Linked DNA regions of Homo sapiens: all the other regions are linked to region 1. Evidence: promoter capture Hi-C in 16 types of primary human blood cells and fetal thymus (Javierre and others, 2016). All regions are on one chromosome and are shown on one strand. The core of a region is centred on a gene start or on the middle of the fragment in contact, and the rest is flanking DNA. Distances in the headings are between cores, read along the strand shown. Region 1 holds the start of RLIM (ring finger protein, LIM domain interacting). Region 2 holds the start of PJA1 (praja ring finger ubiquitin ligase 1). Region 3 overlaps HMGN5 (high mobility group nucleosome binding domain 5).

Region 1 (4,951 bases), core at 324-2,823:
ACAGTGAACAAAACAGAGAGGTTTACTGCTCAGAAAGGGTGAAGTAAACAAACAAATAAATAACTTACTTTCAGATTAAGTGTTTTACAAGAAAAGTAAGCAGGTAAGGAGATGGGAGAAGTCGTTATTACTTTTTTCTTTTTTTTTTTTTCCTCAGACCTTTTTCCGCCTTCAGGAAGAAGTTATTTTAGGTAGGGTGGTCAGGGAAGGCTTCTCTAGGAAGTTAATAATTGCGAGGCTTGGATGATGAAAGCAAAGATATGAAAGTAAAATATTCCAGCAAAGGTAAAGTAGTTGAAGTAGGAAGAAGTTAGCTTTGTTGGAAAAACCGTAACAAAGCCAGCATAGCTGGCATGCTATTGGAAAACAGAAAAATTGGGAAAAGGAAAAGAATCTAAAAACTTGGGTAAGGTTTTCCTTTAACTGTGACAATGGGAGTGGCATGCTGTGTGGCGAGTTCCCTCAATTCTTTCAGGCATTACTACCTAAGAAAGGCCTTCTTTAACTGCCCTTTTACAAATCCCAACGTTATCAGATTTTCCCACCCTTTTACAATCACCGCCCTTTTTCGAATACTTTAGAGTTAATGCCTCAAAGTTATCAGTCTTTTAAACATCACGAATCCGTTTGTCCCTACAAGGAACTCTTCTGTCCCCCTTCCTTGATTTTTCTCCTTGGCATTTATCACTAACATGATATGTATTTATGTTTGATTTTTTCTAAATTATTGTCCCTGGCCCCTATAAAGACTCAAGAGAACTGGGATTTTGATCTGTTTTCTTTTTTTTTTTTTTTTTTTTTTTGAGACACAGCCTTGCTCTGTCACCCAGGCTAGAGTGCAGTGGCGAGATCCCGGCTCACTGCAATCTTCGCCTCCTGGGTTCAGCTATTCTCCTGCCTCAGCCTCCCGATTAGCAGAGATTACAGGCGCCCGCCACCACGCCCGGCTAATTTTCGTATTTTTAGTAGAGACTGGGTTTCACCATGTTGGCCAGGCTGGTCTCGAACTCCTGACCTCAGGTGATCCGCCCGCTTCGGCTTCCCAAAGTGCTGGGATTACAGGCGTGAGCCACCGAACGTGGCCTGTTTTCTTTCTTAATTTTGGTCTATTTTAATTTCCTAAGCAGCTACAATGGTGCTTGACATGCAGTTGGCACTGTGTAAATACATGTTGAATAAAACGCAGGCTACTTTTTGAACTGGTCTGCACGGATTGTGTGAACTGATGTGATGTCAGGGTAGACTAATATCACATTTCTCTCTCTCTGAAAATGTCTTCAAGCAGTCAGACCGTGACGTCCTTCAGTTTTCAAAATGGGAAAGCGAAGGTTCCCACAATTCTCAGAACGCAAATTTCTCGCCACAATTCAAAATGGCGGAGGAGGGTGGGGCCTGTCACATGGTGGGCGTCATAACAGCTTTCCTTTTCCAAACCGCCGCCCGCCTTGCCGCGTCGTCTGCCGTCCCCCTCCTCCTCCCGCGGAGCCTTTTCGAGGAATCGACTGGGATTGGCTAATAGGCTGGGAGTGGGGCTGCGGTGCCGGGACGCGGCATCATCACTTCCTGTTGTGGGCAGTCGTTTCCTGTCGCTGCTTGGTAACAATGGGGAAGATAATGGCTGCCTGAGCAACGTCTCCGAGCAGGCGCTGGGCTAGAGGCGGGTCTCAACCAGCTACTCATTGGAGGCGGGCTTGAGAGCGGCGGCCAGGGAGGTGCGGAGCAGCCTCGGCGGCGGCGGCCGAACCAACCGAGTCGGATCCTGACCCTAAAACCTAGTAAGTGAAGACTTGGGAATCCTGTGAGAAATGATGTAGAGCGAGAGGAAGACAGCGGAGCCGCGGCTGCCGCGTTCTCTCAAAATGGCCCGAGTGACGCGTCGTGGCAGAGGCTCAGCGCCGCCTCCGGACCCCAGGCCCGTTGCTGCGGGGGGCTCCGTGGCGTAGTCGCCGCTGCCATTTTAGTTGAGTGGTATAGTCGACAGGCTCTTTGAAGGGGAAGGAGGTGGGTAGTACTTCCTCTCGGTGGCCGCGCGAGCTGCAGCCCAGGCCCTCCGGAGCCTTAGGAAATCGGGGGAGGCAGTTTTTGAGTTTTGGCCTCAGGCGTCAGAATCTTAGAACGTCTCAGGCTTTTTCTTCTCTGTTCTCTGGAGGCTTCCCTGACCTCCCCGCGTTTTCCATGGCGGGCTTGGGTTTGGGAAAAGGGAAGTAAAAAATCAGGCTGCCCCAAGTGAGATGCTGGCAACTCTTGGGCCTTTAGATTTCCAAAACCTCATTTTGAGCCCTTCTGCAGGGTATTACCAATTAGGCGCCCCCTGGGGCCGCGATGACATCTTCCCTGAGGATCTGAGGCAAATGTGGTTTACTCCCTTGCTCGAATAACCCTGGCATATCCTTTGCCAGGTATCACTGGAAGGATCCCCCCGCAAAAGAGAGGGAAAAGCCGTTAGGTGTTTGTTGTGTTCTCCTGGATAAGGGATGGAATTGGGCCAAATTTTCAAGTTAATTTGTGTTTAATCCACCAACAACTCAATCCCTCCCCCATTAAAAAAAAAAAAAAAAGCCTAGGGGGGTCTCTGCTTCTGCAGACGGTACCTGCCACGCATGCCATAGCTTAGTAACTAGTATTAACCGGTTGGGCTTCTGCTTCCTGAATACTCGGTCCCTTTTTCCCTTATGCTGATTAATTTCAAGATGGAGGAGACAGCCACGTTCCTTCCCTAGACAGTTTCACCATACTTATTCCACAGGTTAGTCTGGGAATCTGAGGCCTAGCAGTCTTGTTATTGAGGTCATTTTTTTTTTCATTTTGGGGCAAGAGGAAGCAGTTGTATCAGATTGTCATCTTCCATTTGCAAGACCCCACAATGATTTTTTGCCAGAAGTAAGGAGCCCGCATTTCCTGAATCAGAATTAACCGCAGTGTTTTGGACTGATTGAAAGGGGGAAGAAATAATAAACCTACTGCTACTAATCATTTCTTTCATTCTTCGTGATTATAGACAGAGTAACTACTTATCACCCCATTAAGTACATTGTATCTTCCCTGGAGGACTGGCACAATTATAACCCCTCCCCCCCCATGACTTTTCTAAACTGTAGAAATATAGCTTAGGTAGCTAGAAAGACCAATCCACTTTTTAAAACTTGATTTTAGGACACACTCCACTTACTGAAAAATGTTACAAAGATTTTTTTAGTCCATGATGTTCTGATGAATTTTAATACTTTAGTTCCTACCTTAGGCTAGTGTAATGTGCCAGATAAGTCCTTGAAAGTGACTATCAGAATCTGAAAATAATTACTGGTCTGATAAGGAAAGGCTTATTTTAAGCAAGCTTATAATAAAACGTAAATTGTCTCTCAGTCTTAGAAGACATCTTTTATCTAACTCCTGGTCCCCTCTGACCTTCTTGCTCTCCCCAAATGCCCTAATACTAATATTGAATTAGGTTGGGTTATGGTGTGTCTGTATTTTTTTTTTTAGGTTGTGTCTAATTCAAAGAAAATGTGTATCTTTTTAAAGAGGAAGAATAATGGATTCTTTTTTTTTCTAGAGCAGAGTGAAGAAAACTAAAATCCAGTTTATTGTATTTCAATACTATGTCATAACAGTCAGGTAATTTATTTTTTGTTGCGTCTCCTGATGATTTATGTGTAGAATGCATGTTTACAAATATTTATTGTTCTATTTTGCAGGCCCTGTAATTGGATGGGCTCATTGATAGATGTTAGATGGTGTTGGGTATTCTTCATGATAAGAATGGGTACTTTTCACTGGGAATTAAAAGGGTAATGTTTCTGGATACCTGGAACTCACCAGTGCTTTATCTGTGAATTTGACTCTTTAAAATAATGTCTGAAGTTTACCAATACCTGTATAGAACAACAACAACAAAAAATTTGTTGTCTTATATCATTGTTGGAATGGCATGAGTATAAGTAAAATAACATTTAAATGTTCATTGGATAACTAAATGAAATATCAGAATAGCTTACGAGAGTATAATTTTACGTTACTTTGTGTGTGGTGGTTGATTTTTTTCCTTTAAGATTCAAAAATTCATAATTGATACATGATACTTTTAATTGATATTGACTCCTTTCATTATTATTATCATCATCATTAGGGTAACCACATAATTTATTGCCTAACCAAGACACTTTTAAGAACAAAAGGAACATTAATAATTCCTGGACAGCAGGTGCAAACCTTGATTGTCCCCGACAAACTGGGATGGATACTTAGCCTAAATTCATAACCAACTTCTGCTGAAGGCCTGTGGTGCTAGGCCATGTGCTTTATATGCATTATTTTATAATTCTCACAACAGAGCCTCATGAGAATGTTAACTTTTATAGAGGAAACCAAAAACCCAAAGAGGTTAAGTATAATTTGTCCTCAGTTAAATAGCTTTAAGTGGTGGAGCCCTCATTTTATCCCAGGCCTGTCTGACGTTATACTTCTGGGTTTGATTGCTGTCTAATTAGATAGGAAATGCAATGAAAATGAAAGGTTGTAGTAAAAAGTCTGTAGGTTATGTTGCATCAGAAACTTTTGTTAATACTTAAAGGTTATCCAGCAATCCCCCCTTTTCGTCTGTTACGTTCCTGTTTCAGCTATTATGCATGTTTACACATATTTATTGTTCTATTTCACAGGCCCTGTAATTGGATGGGCTCATTGATAGATGTTAAATGGATAGCTCCTTGTATATCATTTGATAAACTTAATTTAAAATCAGAAATGATTTTAAGAAATAGCTTAATAATTAAATGATCTGGAAATACTAGGCTGGTTGGATATCTTTGAGGTTAGTGAACATGTAGTGAGCCTTAATATAGTAGTAGGTCAAATGAGGCATCTGCATTTATGGAATTATATTATATGTACATTAATTTTTCCATGGCCATGGTGGATTAGAAATAGAGCAAATCACCAGCCAGCCTCCTGT
Region 2 (5,066 bases), core at 2,550-5,049, 5.4 Mb after region 1:
GTTAGCTTAGAAATGGGTCTTCTTTGGCCTGTCAACAACCATGTAAAAGAGCTTGGAAGTGGACCTCTTACCCTACTTGAGCCTTCAAATGAGACTGCAACCCTAGATGAGAGCTTGGGTGCAACCTCGTAAGAAAGTTTGAGTCAGAGGCACCTAACTAAGCCATGCCTGGATTCCAGACCCATAGAAACTGATATGATAAATGTTTGTTGTTTTTAGCTGCTATGTTTTAGGGAAATTTGTTACACAGCAATAGATACCTACTACATACTCTTTGACCAAGAAATTCTACTTCAATGTTTCCATACTAGAGCAATTTATTTCAATCCTTTTCACATCAGAACATATATTTAAAATGCTATCAGCTCACTGGAATAAACAGACAGTGTGCTCTTGGCCAGAGGCAACAGTCTCTAGGGGCAGCTGCTGAAGCCAAAGCTACCTTCCTGGAGAGCTAAGGGGATCAATATATCAGAACACTTATAACTCAGTTGGGAAGCTCTGCCCTGAAGAAACTCTTCTATGTAGGCACAAGGAGCCATGCACTAGGATGTTCATTGAATCCTCACTTATAATTGCACAAAACAGAAACAGTAGGAAAAGAGATAAATTGGATAACTTATGCAAAAGAAGTCCATACAATAATATGTTATAGTAATGTATTGGATAATTGATACAGTAATATTCAGCAGTTAAAATGCATGACTCAGATCTACAGGTATCAAAATTGCTGAGTTTCAAAAAACAACAGAGTGAAAATCTAAGTTGCAAAAGTATATATTTATAATGATACCATCTGTATAATTTAAATACATGAAACAAAATTGTGTATTGGTCACAGATATATATATGTAAATATATATTATATATCTGTATATATATGTATACATACACTTATATGCACATATACATATATACACATATATACATACATATATATACACACACATATATATATATATATATATATATATACACATACACACACACACAAACATGAACAAGACGACAGCACATCAACTTCCAAATAAGGCTTATTTTCAAGAGAGAGGTCAAGTGAATAGGATGAAGTGAGGGCTTCATCTGTACTATTTTGTTTCAAAAACAGAAGGATCTGAGGATCTGGAGAAAATAAAATTTGCTCAATCCATGTGACAGGTGCATTAAAATGTGTATTTTATACTCTACTTTTCTGTATAGTTGACATATTTAAAAATATTTTTATAAAGAAAATGTATCCTCTCTTGAGTCCAAAAATACATATACAAGCTGGGCACAGTGGCTCACGCTTGTAACTCCAGCACTTTGGGATACCGATGCAGGTGGATTGCTTGAGATCAGGAATTCGAGACCAGCCTGGTCAACATGGTGAAACCCCATTTCCACTAAAAAATACAAAAACTAGCTGGGTGTGGTGGTGCACACCTGCAGTCCCAGCAACTCAGGAGGCTGAGGCAGGAGATTGCTTGAACTCGGGAGGTGGAGGTTGCAGTGAGCCAAGATTTTACCACTGTACTCCAGCCTGGATGACAGAGCAAGACTCTGTCTCAAAAAAACAAAAATACATATACATTCGGTATATTGTACTGTCCCATTTCCTCATATCGTTATTTATTTTGCAGTCTATTTGATTTATCTATACCATAAGAAATGAGGTGAAGTTTCCCACTATAATTGCAGACTTCCTGATCTCTCTTTATATTTCTAACAGTATTTGCTTTATATATTTTGAAACTACATTGTTTGGCACATAAATTTTTGTGACTATCATATGTTTTTTTTTAAAATGCACTGTTCTGCAACATGCTTTTTTCACTTAATATATTTATATTAGACCAGTACATATATACATATATACTTGCCTTCTTTCTTTCTTTCTTTTTTTTTTTTTTTTTTTTGAGACAGGGTCTGACTATTGCCCAGGCTGGATCACAGTGGCGCAATCTTGGCTCACTGCAGCCTCAACCTCCTGGGCTCAAGTGATTCTCCCACCTCAGCCTCCCAAGTAGCTGGGACTACAGGCACGTACCATTGCGCCAGGGAAATTTTTACGTTTTTTTTGTAGAGATGGGGTTTCACCATATTGTCCAGGCTGGTCTCAACTCCTGGGCTCAAGCAATCCTCCTGCCTTGGTCTCCCAAAGTGCTGCGATTACAGGTGTCAACCACCATGTCTGTACATGAGCCACCATGCAACATGTTTAAATAAATTTAAACAATTTATTTGTTGAGGAGAATTAAAGTTGTTTGCATTATCTTGCTACACTCCTATTCACATATCTTTCTCCATTTGTGTGTCTCAATAGAACACACAATAGAGCAATTGACTAGAAGTAGAATTGCTAGATGAAAATGTATCTCCATTAAAAAATTTGATAGTTTCAGATTTCTCACCAATGAAGTTCTATTATTGTTATTATTATCATCATCATTTTGAGATGGCATCTTGCTTGGTTGTCCAGGCTGGAGTGCAGTGGCGTGATCTTCACTCACTTCAGCCTCAACCTCCTGGGCTCACACAATCCTCCTGCTTCAGCCTCCTAAGTAGTTGGGACTACAGGCACACACCACCAGCTTGTCATATCTTTCTCAGTGAATAAAGCAACCTGTTTTGTTCTCTTTAGTTCTTTTTACTTTGAGTTCTCGATGTTTAGGATATTGATATTGTTACGAGTTTGTTTCCTCCTTCCTTTCCTTCCTTTTTTTTTTTTTTGCTTCTTTCCTTCCCTCATTCCCTCTCTCCCTTTTTTCTGCTAGTATTTTACTCTCATATATTTTTTATTCCTATTTCTGCTTTAGGTGAAACTCACATAAATAGAATATAACTTAGCTTTTAAAAACAAAATGCTCAAAATAAGAGTTTGGTTTTTATTAGGAGATGTTAACCCATAATGCATGCTGATATATTTGGATTCCTGCATTTTTGTTTTCTTTTTGCATCCTTTTTTTTGTACCCCCCCAGCAACATTTCTTGACCTTTGTTAAGAATGAGTTTTTCTCTTTGTTCCACATATTATTACTTTAATGGTTTGAAAGTTATACATTTTATTTCTATTATGTTGTTACCCCTAAGATTTTTGTTCTATTATGCATTTTGTTTCCAGTAAGAACAAAACTTTGCTACTGTTGTGAACATGGGAAATGTTTACATTGGCTGTAAATACTAGAGTTCCATTATAAAGCGCAATTTAAAGACTTCAGAATTCAGTAAAATGGTATAAATCCAAAAGGCGTAACTACAATATTTTTAACTGCAATGCAATAACAGAATATGAACCTGTGTTGTGTCCTATGATCTCTTGGACAGAGAAGCTTGGTTTTGTGATTAGCAGCAACAAATTCAACATAAACAGCTTCAATTTGCTTTAACCATCAGGTTAAAAAAAATTTAAGCTTACTGCAACCCTAAATATGGTTTCACAGTTTTAATACTTTCGGTACAACCATAACACGTAACATAGGATGTGATGTAGTAACGTAATTACTCTCACATTGGACTTAATCAGAAAGAATTTGCAGATTTTATTTTATTTATTAAAAAACCAGAAGGCAATATAGCTAAATGTTTAACATTAGTTAAAGCTGGGTGTTTGTGACATTTTTCGCTGTCCTTTTCTGTATCCTTGACGATTTCATCATTTAAGATGAAATAATGCTTTCGGGCCCACCCTGATTTGTGGAGAGCAGCTGCCGCCCCCGCCACATCAAGGAGGCGGGCTCCAGCTGACTTCACAATCACTTCCGCCGCCGCAGTCGCCGCCCGCCCCGCTGCTGTCTGGCGGGGGAGGAGCTCGGGACCGGGAGCAGCGGCTCTGGCGGTCGTGGCGGTCGGAGATCCGAGAGCTCTGCTTCTCTGAAAAGCGTGTGGCTTTCTGGACTTGGTGAGTGAAAGGCTGATTGTTTCCTCGATTCATCCGGGCGCTGGCGGTGGCGCGAGTGGCCGGGCGCGGGGCGAGTGGCCGGGCACGGGGGCGAGGATTTTGGGGGGTTCCTGGGAACTGCTTTTCAGGTTCGCCCCTCGGGAAGGGGTGGGGCGGACGCGGGACCTGACTGCAGAGTGAGGCCCATGTCCTCCATCGGCCTGTTCTGGGGCCACATCTTCCGCTGCCGGAACCCCTTTGGTGTGGCGCGGTCCCCACTCGAGTGGCTTTCATCGCTATTGGGAGGGCAGTGGTGGTCGCGGCCCTCTCCCACTTCTCCCTGCCTCTCCTCCCCTCTCCTTCCTTCTTCCCTCCTCGGCCCCTTTGCGGAGCACTCCGTGGCCTTTCTTCCCATATTTTGCTGTTGTTTTGCCAAATGGTAAATGGTTAAGATTTTTAGGTAAAAATACTGTTCCCAGGGAAAAAATTGGAAGGAAAAAATAATTATTCTCAGGGAAAACTAGACCCACGCACGCCCTTTTCTTTCATTTTCCCTCTCCCCTGCCACATCGGTTGGGGTCTCCCGTTTGAGCTGATGGCCTTTTCCCACCTCTTTTTATGACATTGCGTCCCCCCTACCCCCCACCCCCCGTGTGTCGCGAGCACGCGCCCCCGCACAGAAGCCTTCCATTGCAGCCCCCTCCTTGCCCCTCCATCCTCAAGGTTCCAGTGCTTCCCCTCCCCCGCGCATGCGCAGGCACACGCAGCACACACCCTCTCACACACCCTCACACCCTCACACCCTCCCATGCCTTCCCCCTCCTCTATCCGCCTACCACATACACACCTCTAGCACCGGCCCCCTCCCTGCTCGGCCTCTGCGTGCTCTCGCGAACACATGCCTATTCACACACCCCCTCCGGCTGCCCTCCTTCTTCCTTCCTGTCATATACACACATAAGGACATCCTTCTATCGCTGGCCAGTGACATACATATGTAGCCACATGTGCTCATTCATACCCCCTTCTCAAATGCTCTCCTCTATTGCTCTGTCTGCCACGTGTGTCAGACACAGCTCTCTTTTGCTGGTCCCTGAGGTGCACACACTCGCACTCACATAAATCCTTCTACGGGGACACAACCTGCCTCCCTGCTTGCCATATCCACACAGGCAGGCATCATTCTTTGATTGCCTGCCTCTGTTCC
Region 3 (4,651 bases), core at 1,882-4,381, 6.5 Mb before region 1:
CACCACTATTCTCTCATGAAGGGTGATTATTTCTAATCAACCCTCACTAGTGAACAGTTGGACTACACCGAAAACTGATCTATTCTTGAAAATAGGCTCTTGTCTCATATAGGCAGCCTGGGGCATTTATCAGTTCTTGAATTCTTGTTTCATTTCTTTTTGTAAGAGTAACCAGCATTAGTGAACTTTCTAAGGAGAAAAAGCCTGAACATTAAGGCCAATTAAAATAAACAAAGTGAAAATATAATTGCTTTAAACTAAAGATGTCATTTTTTCAATGTGCCACAATAGCCGCAAAACTTTAGAAGTGTCACAATCTACATTTCCATATTTTAAAAGCTATGAATTAATATCTGTGCTTCTATAAGTTGAGGATGAAGGTTAAACGTTCCTATCATATTAAGATTTTAAAAGTCTATTTCATGCAAAAAAACATAGATATCAACTATACCAAAAGTATAAATTAAGTTCAATAGATAGGATTTAGTAAATACCCTAGAAATTTTCTAAGAGAGTAGATATTAGGTGCTCTTACCACAAAACAATAATTTTTTTGTTGTTGAATATGTTGACTTGCTTGACCGTAGTAATCATTTCATTATATGTATATCAAAACATCATGTTGTACATCTTAATATATACAATTAATCTTTTAATTTTAAACAATAACTATGTATATAAATAAATTTAAGGGAAGCTGAAATCTTATAAAGTAAGAAAGTTTGAAACTCTTTTCAAGTAAATGATGACACCTACTGGATGTTAGAAATCTTCAAATAACATTTAACCAATAATGAATCTCATCCGCAATTTTTATCTGAAAACCTCTTTGCTGGCAAGGGAAAGAAGAAAACATGGGCAAGCATTTGGACGTTCAAGATTAAAAACTCACATTCACCAGACTTACTTTAGACCAAAAAACAAATAAAGGAATAAGGTAAAAAGTAGTTTTTCTCTTCTGAATTTTCTACTTTCTTGAGGTATAGAAAACTGACTAGAGAATACAAGTTTAAGATCATAGATGAGTGAGGATCCAATGAATCAGTAAAAAGATATATCTGAAGTAGGTTGACAGCCAGAGTTTCATCTTGAGTTTTAAGGTCATTGAGATGGAACATAATTCGTGTTTACCAAATGTGTCATTTAGTCATTAACATTTCTGTATAAACTGTGTAATTGCTGATATCACAACCGTAGATAAAATTTTTAGTAAAAAAGTGAAAAAAACTGCCTGATTTTTTTTTTTTTTTTTTTTTTTTGAGACTGCGTCTTGCTCTGTCACCCAGGCTGGAGTGCAGTGGCATGATCTCGGCTCATTGCAACCTCTGCCTCCCAGGTTCAAGCGATTCTCCTGCCGCAGCCTCCCAAGTAGCTGAGATTACAGGCATCCACCACCACACCCCGCTAATTTTTGTATTTTTGGTAGAGATGGGGTTTCACCATGTTGGCCATGTTGATCTCGAACTCTTCACCTCAGGTGATCCACCCGCCTCAGCGTCCCAAAGAGCTGGGATTACAGACGCGAGCCACCACACCCAGCCAACTGCTTAAATTTTAATAGATGATCTTTCGCAAGTCATTTAAGCTCTCTGGGCTTGTGTTTATTCATCTGTATTCCAAGGGTATTGAAACTAGAAAATCTCTATTAGTATCTGCTAAACTTGAATGTCTGAAAGCCTAAAAATAGCATTCTTTTAAATTGTTACTTTAAAAGTCGGTAGAAATTTTACAAATAGAAACATAAAATGTATTATATTCCTTTTACCCCTAGAAAGCAGCTCAATTTACTTTTACCACTGGAAAAATAATCTATCTGTCATATCAGTGGCTACTCTTTAATTCAGTATTTTATTAGTCTTTGGCCTGCTGCAAATAAACATAGGACATAGGAAGATTTGGGTCACCAGAATTACAGTTTTTCCAGAGTCAGTCTCAGCTAAGTGGCATCATCAATTCAAATAAATTTCTGATATCAATCTTAAACAAGGCTCAGAAATAAGTGTATTGATGTATTTGGCTCACTGTAGACTTGGATTTATTTTACCCTCTGAAAATACCAACAAAAAAAATCTAAAACACTGTATTCTAATAATATGATAGAATTCTTGCATTATTTGCTGACAATAGTATATAGTTTTCCAATTTTTTATTTTATTAAAATACAACAGGAATAATAATGGTGTTGCATGAGGTCAAAATTAGAGATATTTTAACAGAGAAAATAAAGTATTTCTTACTAGTCAATCAGTATTTTTGAGATCCCATTGCATGCAAAGTAGTGTATCTAGAATGCTTTTAATTAATCATATATATATATAATTTTAAACTATGAATATACAGAACATTTGAAGACCTGTTTTATCTTGGCTGTTTAGCATTCCTTTTCTCATAAATACATAATATTTTCTTTTGGATTCTCTGTCAATATATCTTAATGTTGGTGCCTTTAATCCATAAATTTTCATATCTTCCTGTGTCATTTTTAACTGGTTACTAAATGGACACGTTACAGTTCCTGTAAATTTTGGGAGTGGTAGTAGGCATGCTTAATAGCCAGGTAAAATTAGGGAATTCTGTGGAGAATTGTCAGGCAATCAATTTTCCTAGTCATTAATAAATTAAAAAGAGAAACAAGCCAACGTAATCTTAGAAAAAAATAGTCCAGTAAAAAGTCTCACTTTGACAATTACACAAAAATAACCTTTTTACTCTGGAATAATTTATCAATTTTAGAAAAATATATTGGAAAAGTAGTAAATTCTACAGAAGGTATGTAGAGTGTGATGTGCTGAGTAAATATTTAGGCAAAAGGAAATAAGTATATACAAGTTTGACCCAATTTGAAGAAGTTTGATGGAGTGGTTGGGAAAAAAAGGAAAAATCAAGCTTGCTTGTGTCCTATGAGTAGTACAATCTAAATTGTATAGTATAACAGCAGGGAAGAATTTCTTAGGGCTAAAATAATTGAAGAAGGCTTTTGTCAAAGAGGTGATATTTGGATTGGGTCTAAACAGTTTGGTAAACATTTGATAGGTGAAGATATTTGAGAATGGGGCTGCAGTCAGAGGTAATAATACTGCAAAGGCAAAGAGCCTAAACAGGTTTGCTAATGTAAAGGACCGCTCTGGTTAATGGTTAGAAGGAAGAACATGAGGAAATGGGGGATTGGGGTCAAGAAACAGAAGAATGTTTCACACTTAGAAAATGTTCTTTTGCATGCATGACTATTTTTTCAATTTAATAAGATATAAATCACAGTTGCAACACGTTAGCCTTCAAGAAGAAAAAACTGGCCAAAAAAGAAAATTGCTGACAAATTTAAGAGGAGTTTTAGAGCTCACTGACCTGCACATTATGCTTTGCTTCTCTAAGCTTTACCTTCCAAGGCTCCTCAAGATAATTTGTTTCAATCCACTTGGACTAGGCACTATGTTCCCTGAACAAGTACAACCTTTTCCTGCCGCTGCATTTGCTGTAATGTAACAGTCTACCGAACTGTTCACAGGCAAGCCAAATTCCACTTCCTCAATCAAACCCTTTGCCAAGTTACCTTAGTCCTAAAAGATCCTTCCCTCCTGTTTTATTATTGAATTTAGATTGCACCATTCAGATAATACAATCAGCTTTGATTTGTAAATAGGTATGCATCTGTTTGCTCAATCCTACAAAATTATAAAATTCCTTAAAGACAGAAGCTGTGTAATGCAACTTTGCATGCTACAGGGTTTCGCATTTTCATAAGCTAGTCTACAAAAACAAAATCCGACTCACAAAATAATGCTAAATAAGAATTTGTTGAATGGATGCATTCCACTGCTGACACATTTTCATTCCCTTCATTTTTCTTCTTATCCTTATGAGGCAATCCTTATATTAAAATCAATTTTTATGCTTATCTTCTAACTGTTGGAGAATAAAATGATTGAAACATATTTAAGTTCACCCAGGAATGCTTTTACCATAAGGGCAAAAAGTGACATCAGGAACATCTAGGGATTATCCCAATAACTGTGGACGAAGGAAGCAATTTAAATATCTTTCTGATTTACTTACTTGAATTAGAATGCAGTATGAAGTTGGGGGAAGGAAACTGAGCAGCAGTCACGCAGGCTCATTCTACCTGATCTATGTAATTCCATACTATCAGTGCTGGGGAAGAATGGGCAATAATAATAATAATAATGATATAAATATATAACAAAATAAAAATAATATAGCAATAGTAAATATAATAATTACAATGGGTTATTCTGTTAGGCTGTATTTTTGCTTGAAGGGATGGTTTGGCACTCTGTAGCAGATACAGTGTTTATCTCTTAAACTGATTATTCCAAATTTTTTAACCTACATAAACACAAATGAATTCTTCCTAAAGTAACTGTTCAAAAGGTTAAATTTCTTTTTTGATTAACCCTCCAGGATAAGGATTTGGGTTGTTGTTTGGGAGCACTTTTATACACAGGTAGCTCTTACAACAACCACATCAAGGCGCCTCTGAGAAAGGGCGGTGGGGAATTAGATCCTCTATTTTAATCATATTTATTCCCAAGTAATTTATTCATCAATCTCCACCTCAACCCTGAAAACTTTAGGTCTCAGAAACTGACACTGAAAGGCACCTATAAGCCTCTCTTACAGTCGAAAGTCACCT

The links. The method cuts DNA at HindIII sites, captures the fragments that hold promoters and counts their contacts. A CHiCAGO score of 5 or more calls a contact.
Region 2: the fragment with the promoter of PJA1 here is called in contact with the fragment with the promoter of RLIM in region 1 in 1 of 17 cell types (total B cells); the score reaches 6.3 in total B cells.
Region 3: a contact is called between a fragment that was not itself captured here and the fragment with the promoter of RLIM in region 1, in 1 of 17 cell types (fetal thymus). The highest score is 6.7, in fetal thymus.

Annotation. Positions count from the first base shown.
Region 1 is chrX:74,611,246-74,616,196 of GRCh38, reverse strand. It overlaps RLIM (ring finger protein, LIM domain interacting), which reads left to right and starts at 1,573. Exons shown (of 4, transcript NM_016120.4): 1 at 1,573-1,775. RefSeq lists an enhancer at 1,649-1,968. The HindIII fragment of the contact is 9,843 bases long and covers 1-3,336 here.
Region 2 is chrX:69,164,186-69,169,251 of GRCh38, reverse strand. PJA1 (praja ring finger ubiquitin ligase 1) reads left to right here and starts at 3,799. Exons shown (of 2, transcript NM_001032396.4): 1 at 3,799-3,880. The HindIII fragment of the contact is 4,972 bases long and covers 3,395-5,066 here.
Region 3 is chrX:81,122,756-81,127,406 of GRCh38, reverse strand. The region is part of intron 1 of HMGN5 (high mobility group nucleosome binding domain 5); the gene reads left to right. Among named protein-coding and RNA genes, the nearest start is that of HMGN5, 77 kb to the left of the region's middle. The HindIII fragment of the contact is 486 bases long and covers 2,889-3,374 here.